Linked DNA regions of Homo sapiens: region 2 is linked to region 1. Evidence: promoter capture Hi-C in human tissues and cell types (Jung and others, 2019). All regions are on one chromosome and are shown on one strand. Each heading gives the region's core, a stretch centred on a gene start or on the middle of the fragment in contact. The rest is flanking DNA. Distances are from core to core; before and after follow the strand shown.

Region 1 (7,682 bases), core at 1,390-3,889:
CAGATGGCCTCCAGAGACCAGGGCCTCAAACACTCCATTTTACGTCACTTTAAAAAAAACCACTGAAGTCACCTTCTCATCACTCTGTGATTCTTTAACTCTTTGGCTTTCTTTTCCTGAAGGGACAGGGTATAAATTGCAGACTTCAAAGGCTTTGAAGGGGCAGTGGTTTTACTGAAAACTTACTGCAGGCTTCTGGAAGTGAGTCTGAGGCGCACTTATGGGGAAATGACATCATGAGGTTTCATAGCCTGGCTTCCCCACAGGTGCTCCCCTGGGGGTTTCGGGAGCCTGACAATAGCTGGCTTTTCTTCCAGCTCCGGGAGCATCTTTTCTGGCAGGTGGAAATGTAATATCACGTGGTCAGAAGGAAGGGCTCCTACTTGGATGGTGAGACTAGGATCTAGTAATTGCCAGGAAGATTCTGGGTGGTATTTCTTCACTGTGAAAAGTAGACTCCAATTCTTTAACTCTCGTATTCTATAATTTTAAATTAGGTAAATTTAATCGCTCGCTTCTTGGCTCAGCGTTACTACAAATTAAACATGCAAGTATTAATATTGAATATAATGTCCCTTTAAACAATATCCTGAAACTCGTTGTGGGGCATTTCCAATATATCCATAAAGCAAATAAAACAACTTAATTGTTTGTTTCTCTAAGGGAAGGAGCTAAACCCGAAATTAATTTAGTTCGGCCTGTGAAACAATTCGTTTGCTCTGCCTAATTCTGCCAATTTAAGAACTTTTCCCAGACACAATTAGCATGTAAATCGGCGGCGGGGAGCGAAGAAGGAGCCTCGGCGACCCCGGTTGGGTGGAGCGCGGGACAAAAAACCCCGGAGGCCGAAGGGTCCGGAGCTTCGAAGGGGCTGCAGTACCGCGCCTGGGGCGCACGGACGAGCCAGGGGACCAGCTCACACTGACCCTGCAGTCATCAGCCAAAATCTGGGTGTTAAATAGCGCAGCCGGGGATCCAGCCGTCTTGGCCGCCAGATCCTTCTCCTAACCCCGCGGGATTCTGAGGAGACGTCCTGGAGCCGGCCCCCACCCAACCCGCGGGAAAGCGCAATCCTACCCACCGCCCCACACTCCCCAACCCCCTCCCGAGGCTGGCTCTTGAAGCCGCGGGGGCTGCGCGCGCACCTAGGGCCGCGCCCCCCACTACCCCAGGTCTATAGAGGCCTTTGCCCGAGAAAGGTGGGGATAGCGGCCCCTGCTGACAGCTCTGGAGAACAGCAGGGGTACTGATTTTTTCTTTTTTTCCTACCATTCTCCCTACCTTTTCCAGGTGGTGGTAGTGGTGCGGGGGGAATGGGTGTTGACCCATGTGCATTTATTCTTCGTGAAGCCTCTTAAGCAGATGTCTGTACTTAGAGAAGCGACCAAAGAGGGAACGTGGACTTATTAGTGGTCTTAGTCCCAATTAGGGAACAGGTACAGTTTCCAATATAAAGAAACTCGGCCTAAGTGGGACTGAGACCCCGATCTCCGCACTTGCTTTTCTCAGCCAACTCCATGACTAGTAAATATCTCTCCGAGAACTGCTGGGCCGCCCGATGTTACTTTGTTTAAAGGTTGCGACTAGGATCCGTACCATCTGCGAAGCCCCCTTGGGGAGCAAGAGCCGCGGCGCGCAGTTGATTTCGGGGCGCAGCGGCAGGGGGAGGGGAACGTGGTGTGGCCCGACGAGTTGGCACAAGCCTGTAACTGCAAGACTTTGTAGCTATTGAAAGTTCAAGTGGTGAAAGAAGGCTGTGCCTGCCATTCTTCATGTGATCATAACAATAGCGCCTTGGAAGTGGTTGCGATTTTCTTCTTCCATAAACCTTTTGGGTTCTCACTGGAATTGTATGCGTGTTATTTCTGAAGTTTACTTATTTCTAAGACCAGTCCACAAAATGTGAACTTCATTAAGTTTTAAAATAGATCGCCGTCGTTAAAAACGCCATTCTCTGCACTGTAGTTTATTTGCTTACTTCACATGCTTTATTAACGTGTGTATGTGCGTAATTAATAGCTGTGTTCTTATCTTCCAAGTGTATTTTTAACCGCACCGGCTTCTATCCAATTCATCTAACTACGTAGAGCGTCCATCGCTTCTGGAATCTACCTCTTGATAACAGTAATCAGAATCAGAAAAGCTCGCCGTTCACTTACCCTCATCCTTTAAAACTTTTCCATTTAAGAAAATCGATGAACAAAACCTTTCTTGTAACTCGCTCCTGCACTACGTCTATTTTTATTTATTTTTCTGATTTGGCAGGACTCAGCAATGCTGTCCGGGATTTTTTTTTTCTTTTTTTTTTTCCTAGCTAGAGCAGATGTGGGGGTGGGGGAGGTGAGGGCTGGGCTCCAGCCAGAGTCGCCCCCGCTGAGCCTCCGCCTAGCGCGCGGTGGGGCCAGGAATCCTGGTGGAAGGAAGCGGCGCTGGCCAGTTGGTCCAAGGCTCCACCTGCAGCCACACCGCGTAGTTTCTCCGCCTCTGCCTCGCTCACTCGCACTCACATACACCACAGCTCTCCTTTGGGTCGGAGGAGACGCCAGCCAAAGTAGGCGGAGTTGCGGAAGGAGAGTCCGATCTGCGCAATCCAGTCCGGGACTTGGCTCCGCCCGGGAGCGGCGGCCTCTCCGGTGACAGAGGAGTAGTGAGCGGCACGGGGTGAGGCTGCAGCCAACTCCGCTCCCCGCGCACTCGGCTGCCCAGGCGCTCGGAACCCAGCAGCGGCGCTCCTCCGCGGTGCCGGTCGCCCGCGATGCCCGCTTAGCAGCGTGTAGCAGCGGCCAGCATCACCACACCCGCGGCACCGCGCTGCCGGCCGCAGAGCCGGGCCAGAGCCTTGCACCCCTGCCCCAGCCCCCACCCCGCCCCCCGCCCTGAAATGACTTGTTAATCGGCGCAGACACCACCAAGGGGACTCACCGAAGTGGAATCCAAGTGGAATTTGGATTTGGAGAAGAGTTTCTTGAACATTTACCCTCTTCCTTGTTGGTTTTCTTTTTCTTTTTCTTCTTTTTTTTTTTGGCTTCTTTTTTCCTCTCCCCTTCTCCGCTCGTCATTGGAGATGAACACATCGCGTTTGCATCCCAGAAAGTAGTCGCCGCGACTATTTCCCCCAAAGAGACAAGCACACATGTAGGAATGACAAAGGCTTGCGAAGGAGAGAGCGCAGCCCGCGGCCCGGAGAGATCCCCTCGATAATGGATTACTAAATGGGATACACGCTGTACCAGTTCGCTCCGAGCCCCGGCCGCCTGTCCGTCGATGCACCGAAAAGGTACGCCCCGGGCGCCCGGGCGCGCCCCACCTCCCGGGCAGCTGGACTCCAGCCTGAGGGTCCCGGGGCCGTGGCTAGCGCGTGCTGTCGGCTTTGTGGTGCCTGCGTTTTATTTTGTCTTGTGTCTCTGTTTCCCGAGCCTTGCCCGGTCCTGGGGGAGCAGCCGTGAGCCCTGCCTGCCTTTCCTCTCTGCCCTGCGCCCCAGAGTGCGTCCGGCTCCACGTCGAGAGCTTTCCCACCCGCGTTGCGCACACGCCCGGCGCCGCCCCGGGCCGCGACGGCGCGTATGGCTGTTCCTCCTGGGGGTGTGTGTGCGAGACCCAAGGCTCATCCTCCCGCGTGCCCAGCAGGGAGCAGAGCGGGCCCTAAATGGTGGGATTCTCGGAAGCTCCCTGGCCCGGTGTGTCGAAGGCAGGGGAAGGGGTTCTGCCCTCGAGGGCTGGAGGGGGTTGGGTATAACAGCGCTGTTTTCGTCCAGTGCCAGGTGGGAGAAGGGGTTCCGCGGAGACGGTGTGGAAGCGGAGAGAATCTTTTGTTGTCAGTGTGGGGTCTGGGCTGGGCTCCGTGGAGTGCAAGAAACTTGTAATGGCTCTAGGCACCCGCGCGCCCTGTCTCTCGGTGAGATCCTGGCTCCTGTGGCCGCTGCCACCAGAGGTTCCGGGCTTTGTTTGCTCGAATAAGTGTCCGGGAGCAGCCGTTCGGGTGACGCGGCGCCCCCGCCATGGGTCCTGTCCCCCGCCGCAGCTCCCAACCCGAGCGGCAAGGATATAGCCCGTCGCGGCTGCGTCCCTCCTGAAGCACCGAGCCCTTTGCACCGGGCTGGCGCACGGTACGCCCTCCTCCCAGATCAGCGCGGTCTCGCTCTGGAAAGATGACCCAGGAGGGGGAAGGGTGAGAGACCTGGCAGAAGATGGCCCTGGGTTTGAAACCCAGACTAGGGCTCTGTTCCGACTCCTCACTGTGTCCTAGGGCGCTACCATGGGGGCAATGGGGCGCTGGAGAGTAAGCCGGGCAGTGCCCACCCACCCTGCCTGATCCTTCTGGGGCGGGAAGTGTCTCTTGTCCCGATTCTCCGCGTTTTGCTCAGCTCCTCGCTGTGGGAGATGGTGCAAAACAGGATCCTGAGGTCTCCTCCCTCCTCGCAAGACCCGAGCGGCACGGGGGGAGCCAGGGAGCGGTCCCGGGCTTGTGGACGTCGGGAAAGGAAACAGAATTCCGCTGTTTTTCCCGCTCCCTCGCCGCCCCTCCGCCCAGCGCCTCCTCCCACTTTACAGCGGCGGGGTCACTAGACCAGGCGCTCCTGGAAAGTTTCCCTGAAAGCCAGGGGCGGCAGGCACGACCGGACTGGGGCTCAGCATGTGCAGTCTGAGGGAAGCCGGACCTGGAGGGAATCATGCGGACAGCTCGGGATGCAGCTAGGAGCTAGATCCCGGCCCTTTGGAGAGTGGAACCTCCTGGCCCGCGGTACTTGCTCGACAAGTCGGGGAAGGGATGAATGGGGAAGCAGGACCCCGGAGGCAGGTGCGGCCACTGTGGACAGAGGCTGTGGGGAAGGTGCGTGTGGACACAGGCCGGGGCTCAGTGGCTTGCAAGTAGGCAGCTTCAGGTGCAGAATCCCGAGCCATCTGCTCCCTGCGCACGATTTCCCAGCGTGGCTATCCAGGGAGGGAGGAAGCAGAGCCAGGTGTGCGTGGAGCGGGAGAGGAATGGGAGACTGGAGGCGCTGTCTTCACAGCCGGGGCAAGCACTTCCAGGGAGTCTCCGGCCTGTATCGCACTGGGGAGCCCTGCAGGCTTTTTCGCGTCGGTCTTTGGGAGAAAGGTGGCTGCTTTGGAACTGCGGTGGCCAGGCACAGCCACAGTGGGATCGCTCCTTTTTTTACGCTCAGCTTTTTTACGCTACTGAATGCGATCTGTGAAAGGTTTAAAACACAGGCGTGCATGGACACACACACGCACACACTCGCCCTTGTACGCACAACTTTCTTTACCTCAGATCTGAAAAGCCGTTTAACCCACTTGCAGTGTTGTGCCAGCAGGTCTCAGAAAAGCTATTTAATGCCCCCCAGCGCTGGTTTTTAAGTCTTGCCAGGATGGGAAGGTCGAGTGCCTTTGCCTTGTCTTTCTTTAGTCCTGAAATTGTTCGTCGTCCTTCCCCTGGTGGACACATCTTGGGCATCAAGTCTGTGGTATGCTACAGTGATGGCGGGGAGGACTGGTGGTTTAATTAATTATTTAATTATGTTTTCTCCCCAAAGTAAAGATGCCTATGTTTAATTCTGACTAAAAATACTCTACACTTTTTTATACCGTACCCAAATGGCTACCAGCGGTCAAGATTGCAAGAATTTTGTATGACTTTTTAATGCTGTGTTTAGTCTACATGGAGCAGTTTTATGATTTACAGTAAGCTTTGATTAAACTACTCCAGGCACCAAAGTTAATTATTAACCTAACCTTAAATACAGTGGCAGAACTATGTCTCCACCTATTAACCTAAACTATCTATTAAAAAATAATTGCACTAGCTATTTGAATTTGGTTTACCCATGCTTGTTTGTATGGTAACTTTTATTTGAATCTTGAGTAACCCTTACTCCCTGTTATTATTTTGGTTTTGGGACGTTCTTGAATGAGGCACTTTGCAAACCAGTTTAAAGCAGAAAAGAACGAACATCAAATTTAAAATCTTACTTTTGGTTATGAGTCATTTTTCAACTTGATGTAAAGAAGCATTCTACTTTATGTTTCTGATGTACAGTGTTTGTGGGTGACAACCTTCCCCATATGTTAGGTTTTGCAGCTATCACCTTTTAGAGATGTGCTACATTTTCAATAACGCATATAATCCACATATGTAAATGTTAAGCAGATACCGAAAATCATTTCTGAGGAGCCATCAGCTGAATATACTTATTGGACATAACAACTAAGCTTAAATAGGTAAAAATTTTATAAGAACCAGTATAGAACACTCAAGTAAATGTCGAATGAATGAAATAAATAGTCACACATGGTTCATGTTTGTCCACTTAAAGTGGACTTCTTTATTTTCCCTACAGTGAAAAAAAAAATATATGCCTTCAAGTGAGTGGTTATGATAAGGCGGCAATAAGTGCACCTTTTTATTTACACACAACACACACCCCTCAAGTTCTTCCAAAATCTAGTAAATGCTTTTTCCAACATTAAACACATATAGCAGTTGTATTTTGAGTAGGCGGGTAACATTGCACTAGTGAAGTCTAATGTGTTGAATCAGAAGTGTAGCAAGAATTAGGAAGACTGTTATCTTCACCAAATAAAAATGAGGCATCCAAATTAAGAACTTGTATTAAATTCAAAATAAGTAGTTATGCTTTAAAAGTAAATGGGTAGTTGCACTCCTATATGAAATGGAAGGAAAAATACTATTTTGAACCAGGAGTTAAGTCAGATAGTTTATTCTGTGTACATTGTGGTTCAGCGCTTTTCAGAACAGGACAAAAGAGTGATGATGGGATGAAAGTTTTTTTAGAACTAGATTGCCAAGAGCTAATATAGTCTCTCCATCTTATTTGTTTGCAGGAAGGAATCACAGAACAAGCTAAGCTAATTGCAAATGCTTTAATTAAGCATCTGCCATTTGTGTAAGGCAATGCCTAGGAAAGCCTATCTCTGCACTGCCCCTCTCCACACCCTTCTTTAGGTTTAGACAATTTTCTGTCCTCCTAGAGTAGAGGAGTGCTCCTTGACATATTTATATAGAAGCTTTGTGTTATGGCAGCCACATTTGTGCATGTTGAGGAAGGTGATGCCTTGAGGCGTTCTGCTGGGCCCTCCCATATCAGGAACCCCCCCCACTCTCTTGGGGTGCCTTGGAGCCAAGTTTTCTCTGAGATATTTCTATTTCAGCGTGAAGGCTTTTCTCATCTGCTTTAAAATGTGCTGCAAGAGCAACTGAGCTATTCTCTGCTGGCGACCACATGGTTGCCTCTTGGGGATATGGTAAGATAGAGAAAGGAGGGAGGCATTTAATCCCTTCGAAATGGGCAAATGAGATGTCATACCACACAAACCTCAAGGGGAGGAGTTCAGGACAACTTCTCACCATGGGACTACTGCATATAGTCTATACACAAGGGTATCTTGCTTTGTGAAACAGATGAGCTCTTGCAAAACTTTATTACAATAATTCCATTTACACCAATAGAGGGTATCATATAAAACCATAATACACAGATGATTCCCAAATAACCTCTTCAGCTTAGACCTCTCTCCTGGACCTCACAAATAACCAATGCTTAGTGGGTAGGTAGCTCCTCCTGAATAGACATCTCAAACTTAGGTTTAAAAAACCTAATTCTGTATCTTTCTCCCCCATATCTGCCTTTCTCATAGTCTTCTCCATCATAGTAAATGGCAAC
Region 2 (7,682 bases), core at 2,932-5,431, 480 kb before region 1:
GCTGTTAGATAAGAGAAAAATCATTTTTCATTCATTGATAAGACATAGATTCATTAACAAAGATGCACCAGCCGGTGCGGCGGCTCACGCCTGTAATCCCAGCACCTTGGGAGGCCTAGGTGGGTGGATCACCAGGTCAGGAGATGCAGACCATCCTGGCTAACACAGCGAAACTCCGTCTCTACTAAAAATACAAAAAATTAGCTGGGCATGGTGGCAGGCCCCTGTAGTCCCAGCTACTTAGGAGGCTAAGACAGGAGAATAACGTGAACCCGGGAGATGGAGCTTGCAGTGAGCCGAGATCGCGCCACCGCACTCCAGCCTGGGTGACAGAGCAAGACTCCGTCTCAAAAAAAAAAAAAAAAAAAAAAAAAAAAAAAAAAAAAGGAAGTTTCACTGAAAATAGTCCAGAGGGAGGGAGCAATGAGGAAATAATATTTTACAGGATGAAGAGGTAGGAAAGATTGAACTATAGCAAGTAGTGGGACATGGCTATTATACAATGCAGGTAAAAGTAAATAATGGGAAATCAAGTTGAAAGTTTATTAGAACTGGCAGATCTTGAGTGCATGGAATAGGTAGAGTTGGTTGTCTGCCCCGTCTTGCATAACCCAGTGATATTTAATCCTCAGACCCAAGGCTGAATTCTCAGCATCCCATGTAAGTCATGGCAGCATTATCTTCCCATTATTAGGGATTAGTTTAGGAGAAGCACATGGCCAATTAGATGAGAGAGTTGTCTGCTGTGAGCCTACTGGCAAATGTCATCTTGCTATTAAACATTAGAAAGAAATGTTCCCACTCCTTCCAATGTTGGATCTGCATATGATACTTGAAATTTTTATAGCTGTTTTGTCATCAACCTGAGGATGAAGCCAACAAGAGAAAGAGAACATGGATCCAAGAGAACTGCTAAGAAGCAAAGGTAGGGGCCTATCTATGAAATGTCTTAATATTTGTGACATAATAAGATCCAGTGTTGCTTAATTCATTTAGAATTGTAGGTTTTTAAATTATTTGCATCTTAAAGCATCTTAACTGATAGAGTCAGGCTAGGGAATTTGAACTTACCTATATCAGAGCAGATAATGAAGAAGTACAGATACTTATAAGTAGAGTATAAGTATTAGATTAATCTGGGCATGGTGTTTGAGATGGATTCAGTTAGGATGAAAGTGGATAGGAGAAGTAAGTTAGTAGATGATTATAATTATCTAGGTAAGAGATAATGCAATTCCAAACGCGGGTGAGGCCATGATGAAGATAGCTTTGAATAGATATGAGACAATTTGGAAATAAAAGTGGACGAGCAAGAATGTTTGCAAGTAAGAAAAAATCAGGCAATAAAGAGAGAAAGAATAAATTATTCTGGAAAATAAACGTGTTCTTGACCATTTCTCACTGGAATTCACTGTCAGGAGCCGCAGTTTATATGGATTCTTGGAAGAGAGTGCTGTAGATCATAGCAAACTGTTGTATTTAGCAGCAGCCTGCTTGACAACACCTCCTCCGACCTCTTTCCTTCCTCACTCTTTGTCCCTTACTCCAGTCTATAGGGTTGTACCCTCTAGTGAAGGAGTTTTACAGAAGCCTTTGCCTCGGGCTCTGCTTCCAGGGGAACCCCAAACCAAAATACTCTCCTAAAGGAAGGTTGGACTAAATAAAACAAAATTACTTTCCACATTTAAAATTCTGTGGTTCTAATAAACAAAACAACGTGCTTTCTAAAAGCAACTGCCCCACAGAAGTGGCATGACAATTTCCCCTCTCAAGAATATCATTAACAGTCAAATCCTATTACTACAGGCCAACAAAGGTCCTTCCAAGTTCCTTTGCTTCACTGCTATCCTGTTGAGTTTACTGCTTTTTGATTTCCCTATGTTGCTGGTCTTGGGCTTGAAAATGGCTTTCCTATCCTGGAATATTTGTTTTCATGATTTCAATGTGTTGGAATATATCATGTGTAAGAATTCTGGCACATTCTAAAGAGAAGCCTCAAAAAACATATTCTAGTTTCCAAATAGATTGGCTAATAAGAGTAATATAAATGAAAATGAAAGAAGGCAACAGGAAACAATATTGAAATTTCTAACTTAACCAAGCATAGGAGACCAGAACAGTAATGGAAACAGTCAGGGCTCTCAGTGCAGATAAGCATTTCACAGTCTGATCTACAGGCCCTACCAGTGCCATCAGTTCCAGGCATTTCAGTAAAGTATGAATCACCTCTCCTGTGGAAGTAACTGCAGTGAACCTAGAACTTAACCATTGCATAAAAAAAGCACAAAGACCCCAACTAAGGCAAGCAGTCATGAATGGCACATGTAATTCCTTGTAGGTGAGACTAGGTATATGGGAAGTAACTCCAGGATTTTACTCAGAAATAAAATATTGTAAACTGAACCACTGAGAAAAAAAATGGAAGGGTAAGCATGAACTTCATTCCTCAAAGGTATCAAATATGTAGGATATTTATTTCTTTAACTTCAGAGATGGCTCATCAAATCTGAAAATGAAGTTATTTGTTAAAATAAATTGATTTGAAATAGTTTTCACCTTTTTGAATAGTGTGGGGATTTTCCAGAATGCCTATGAAATATAAGGCATGTACTAGGTTCACATATCCAGAATTAAATAATAATGTTCTTGTCTCTACCATTTCATAAACAACTTTCCAGACACTGGAGACAAGCCCAGAGTATTCAAGAGGCTTTACACACTCAACACCCACATCTACAGTCACTTTTTGCCATGGGGGATCCTTGGTGGAGCTGGCAAGGACATTATTAGGCAGTGCAAGCATTCTCATGGATAAATAGCAACGACTATTAAGCACCCTTGCCTTTTTCCTCTGTAGGAATTTGTCTCCCCTTAACCCAAAGACCTTCTTTTCTTATCCTTTTTTGATTAAGGATCTGGTAAATTCATCTATAGTGGCATAAATTTATGATTAGATATTCTAATGTTGTAGCCCTCTAATACTAATGTATTGCACAAAGGGTAAATTATTACATCTCCCAGAAATGTAGTCATGCTTAATGGTGCCAATACATTCTGAGAAACATGTGCTTAGGTGAGTTCTTCATCCTGTGAACATCATAGAGTGTACTCACATAAACCTAGATGGTATGGGCTACTACACACCTAGGATATATGGTACAGCCTATTGCTCCTCAGCTACAAATCTGTACTGCATGTTACTACACTGAATCCTGTGGGCAATTGTAACACAAAAGGTAAATATTGTGCATTTAAATATTGAAAAGGTACAGTAAAAATACAGTATAAAAATAAAAAATGGTATACCTATATAGGGCACTTATGATGAATGTAGCTTGCAGGACTAGAAGTTGCTCTGGGTAAATTGGTGAGTGAGTAGTGAGTGAATGTGCTGGTCTAGGACATTACTGTACACTATTATAGTATTATAGTACTAGTATTACTGTACCTATTATAAACACTGTACACTTATGCTACACTAAATTTATTTTTTTTAAATTTTCTTCAATAATAAAGTTGCCTTAGCTTATTGTAACTACTTTCTAAACTTTGATTTTTTTAACATTTGACTCTTTTGTAATAACACTTAGCTTAAAATACACCTTGTACAGCTATAAATATTTTCTTCCTTTATATCCATAGTCTATAATTATTTTTCTGTGTTTTAATTTATTTTATTTGTAATTTTTAATCTTTCTTGTTAAAAACTAAGACACAAGCATACAAATTAGCCTAGGTCTACACAGGGTCAAGGTCAGAATATCATTCTTCCTCCAGAATTTGTCCCACTGGAAGATTTTCAGGGGCAATAACATGACATGACGCTGTCATCTCCTATGATAACAGAGCCTTCTTCTGGAATGCCTCCTGAAGGACCTGCCTGAGGCTGTTAACTTTTAAAAATATATAAATAGAAGGAGATAGTCTAAGATAGCAATTAAGTATAGCATAGTAAATACATAAATCAGCAACATAGTCATTTATTATCATTATCAAATATTATATACTGTACCCAATTGCCTGTCCTATACTTTTATAGGACTGACAGTTCAATACATTTATTTACACCAGCATCATCACAAACACTGGAGTAATGCATTGTGCTTCAATGTAGTGATGGCTACAACATTAGGCAATAAGAATTTTTCAGCTCCGTTATAATCTTATGGGACCACTATCCCATATGTAGTCTGTCTTTGACCAAAATGTTGTTAATCAATGCATGAGTGTATTTGCATGGTTTTTTCTATTCAGTGGGGAAAAAAAATGCCAACTACAAAATTACAGGCCTGCTAGTAGTGAAAAGATTGATTTGGAAGATAAAAAAGGGGCCAGTTGCCATATTCCTCACAAATAACACCAAGGATTTACTCTCCTATCCTGTTTTCACACGCATCACAACTCACTGGATTGCCTTTTCAGAATGACAAAGACCTAGCTGATTGTTTTTGCAAAAGGACCGCAAAATATTCATATTAGGGGAGTGTGCATTTTCACTCCACCCTAAGATGTCTTTATAGAATGAAGAAGGGAAATAAAGTGATTAATCCGCTACCATGCAATTTTCCTTCTTCTTAATAGAACCTCCCCACAAGAGATTCTTCCTTCCCCCCTCTACTTCCCTCTTGGGCTAAGAAGCATCAGAAAGCCACGTTTCAGACAACCAAGCTAATGGGGGGTCAGAATCTGAACAAGGGTCCTGAGATGGGCAGAGGGCACAAGTAGAACATAAAGAGAGGATAGGGCTTGATATCAAGCCAGCAGTTTGTTGAGCCAGAGGCTCCCTATGGATTCCTTCAGTCGTGGAGCATTCAGCACTAATGAAGACCTTATACACCAGGAAGTGGAGGCACAAAATGAAAAGATAAAATGTTTTTCAGTTGTTCAAAGCCTAGTGAAATCATTCCTCAGCCCAACGGCAGAACTGGAGGGGAGAATGGCTGGGCCCCATAACAGGTGCAGACAAATGCTGACTAGCAGTGAAAGAGCAGAGAGGAGAATAGCCCCTGAAAGCTTCTTCTTTTTACTGAACCTTGCTTTTAAGTGAAATGGTCTGGATATTCCCAACAATTCTGTTACTCGATTTTACTTACAATTTCAATTGTGTATTAGGAAATTCTTGTGGGGGTATTTGAGGCTGAGAATAATACTCTTTCTATTATACTTCAGAATTGTCATCTCATCACTGCCTTTTTAAAGTCAAATTTGTTTTACTTTTTAAAGAAAATATATTTTCCTCCTTTTATCCTGCTGCTTCCATCTCATTTTACAAAATGTTAACATTCCTTCATTATGTCACACATGGTCTCCAACAAATGTCATCAGAATTGCAAAGTTATTCAGTGTCTTGTGACTGTTTTGCAGTATTTACCCAAGTTTCCTTGCAGATCTATTCATGAATAAATTTTGCACGCTTTGTAACTGCATTCTCAGATATTGCCATTCATAGTTTTATGAGATACTAATTGTAAGACGTTGATGTTTTCCCTGTCACATATATGTCCTTATTAATTCTAGAGTATTTTAAGCAGAAAACAGCTAAATGGGAATAAAAAACAGCACGTAAACTAAGTAGTTGCCAGCAGTGAATGGCACACTTAATTACTGCTGGCTACGGTCCTTTAAACTAAAGAGATAACCTTTGATAATTAAACATACACACACACATATTAATTCTTTCCAACATATATCATTTCTAAAATACAAGGAAGTCAACATTCTTCCCAGTTCTATCAAATTTATGATCCTTTTATTTCCGGTTTAAGTCTGGTAGACCATTCAGGTTTTATGTTTAAGCTCAGTGCTAATGCCTCTCTCATCCGCACTCTTGACTCAAGGAAATGACCAGGAGCAATTGCTAAGTAAGTACAGGGTCCATCAGCGAGTCTAACTGGCTTGCTTCCCAGATGCTCCTGCCATCTGTTGGAAATGTAGCCCAATAGAAACAGAAGGTAGACTTAAAAATACACTTTTCCCCGTGTCTTTTAAAAAGTGTGTTTATCACGCTTTAATAATTAGCCATGTAAACAGGCTTTAAATCATGGCCTCAGATACTAAAGTAAACACTGGTCCTCCACTTGGCCATGGTAGGGGAGCTTTGCATCATGATATATTTAAACAAATCTTCAGTCTCCTTGTCTCCTTGTTCCATAAAATATGACATTGGCTATTAAAACAATAAGTCATACAGAGCAAAATGCAAGATGGGGGAATAGTTTTGCAGAAGAAAGAGGTCAACTAAGGGAGAAAGAATGAGACAAAAGGCACTTTGTGAGCCAAAAAGGAACTATTTTCTCTCACCACATGATATGTAGCTCTTGGTAGAAGTCACTGTTGAAATTTAGATAAATTTACATAAAGTAGTATTCAATATCATGCTCATACACTTAATAAATTAATGGAGATTTTTAGCACTCATTGTATTTTCTGAACCAAAGGAGATGCAAAGCACATTGGACTTCACTCCTGCCCAAAATACCATATAAATCAACAGAGCCCTAGAACAGTCATCCTCAGACTGTGCATCAGAATTAGCACACATTTCTGGCTACAGGATTTCTGATTCAGTAAGTCTGAGGGGGCCCAAGAATGTATTTTCTAATGATTTGCCAAGCCAGAGTGATGCTGCTGTTGTAGACTATAAAGCAATAAAGGTAAGAAAGTAGGAATTCCAGAAAAGCAGAGACAGGAAGAGAAAGCCTTTGAGATGCAGACAGGAAGAGAAAGCCTTCAAGGACACTGAATTTTACAGCTGAATGGGACGTTAGCATTAGGAATCTCTAACTATAACCCCCCTCAATTAACAAGTTATAAAACAGAAACCCTTGGGAGTTATTTGACTTTCTCAGAGTCACTTAGTGGCCTAGTCCAAAACAAGAGCAAGGTAAAAAGTTTGGCTGCTTTTGCTATGACTCTCAGAACCAAACACATATTGAGAAATTTGATCACTGGTATGCTGGTTGTACTCTGTGGATGTTTTCCCCTTTAGAAAACTTTAGGAAAATGCACAAAAAGGGAGGAAAAAGAGTCTAATTCCTGGAAGTGCACATCCATGTGGACAGGTGAATTATAAATGTACTACCCATCTCCCTCCACCTGTAAGAGGCCTGCTTCAGAGATAGAATTTTGGAGGGAGGTAGAGGAACATGGAATACCAAAGAGAGAGATGAATAGACATAAGAGAAGATGGCGTTCTTCAGGGGTACATCATGACCTTTCTTTGAGATTCCTGGGCAGTTTATGTGACTACTAGGTTGTCATCAAAGAAGTCAACCATGTCTAGAGAAGACCTCCATCATGTATCCGAGTCTCTAGAGCCAAGAAATAGAGAGCTTATTTAACACAGTTGACAGCAAGTTACAAGACTGTCAGAAAGCCATGGTCCAGAGATGACCTTGAAGGAGGAAAAGAAGGCCTTAAGACCTTAAGAAGCCTTAAAGGAGGGAAAGCAGACAAAAGGTTGAGAATCTGGCAAACTATGCCAATAAACTTTAATGCTGTTATTTGTGTTTTTATATTAATTAAATATTTTAATAAAATATTTGTACTGGGTGTGTTTACAGGATATAATTCATGAAGAAAATAAGACTGAATGTTTCAATGCACAGATTTCTCAAAGTGGGAAATCCATAAAAAGTGTAATGTTAGCCTCAAGGTAGGAACAATGTTTTGTTCATTATTAA

The links. The method cuts DNA at HindIII sites, captures the fragments that hold promoters and counts their contacts. A contact is called where the count stands out against the background at its distance.
Region 2: a fragment that was not itself captured here is called in contact with the fragment with the promoter of SEMA6A in region 1 in 1 of the 25 tissues and cell types used here (heart right ventricle).

The regions. Positions count from the first base shown.
Region 1 is chr5:116,569,780-116,577,461 of GRCh38, reverse strand. It overlaps SEMA6A (semaphorin 6A), which reads left to right and starts at 2,639. Exons shown (of 19, transcript NM_020796.5): 1 at 2,639-3,277. SEMA6A-AS2 (SEMA6A antisense RNA 2) reads right to left here and starts at 3,044. Exons shown (of 3, transcript NR_147170.1): 1 at 2,923-3,044. RefSeq lists a silencer at 2,804-2,883 and an enhancer at 4,581-5,362. The HindIII fragment of the contact is 11,240 bases long and covers 1-5,949 here.
Region 2 is chr5:117,053,391-117,061,072 of GRCh38, reverse strand. No RefSeq gene overlaps it. Among named protein-coding and RNA genes, the nearest start is that of LINC02214, 300 kb to the right of the region's middle. The HindIII fragment of the contact is 9,804 bases long and covers 1-7,682 here.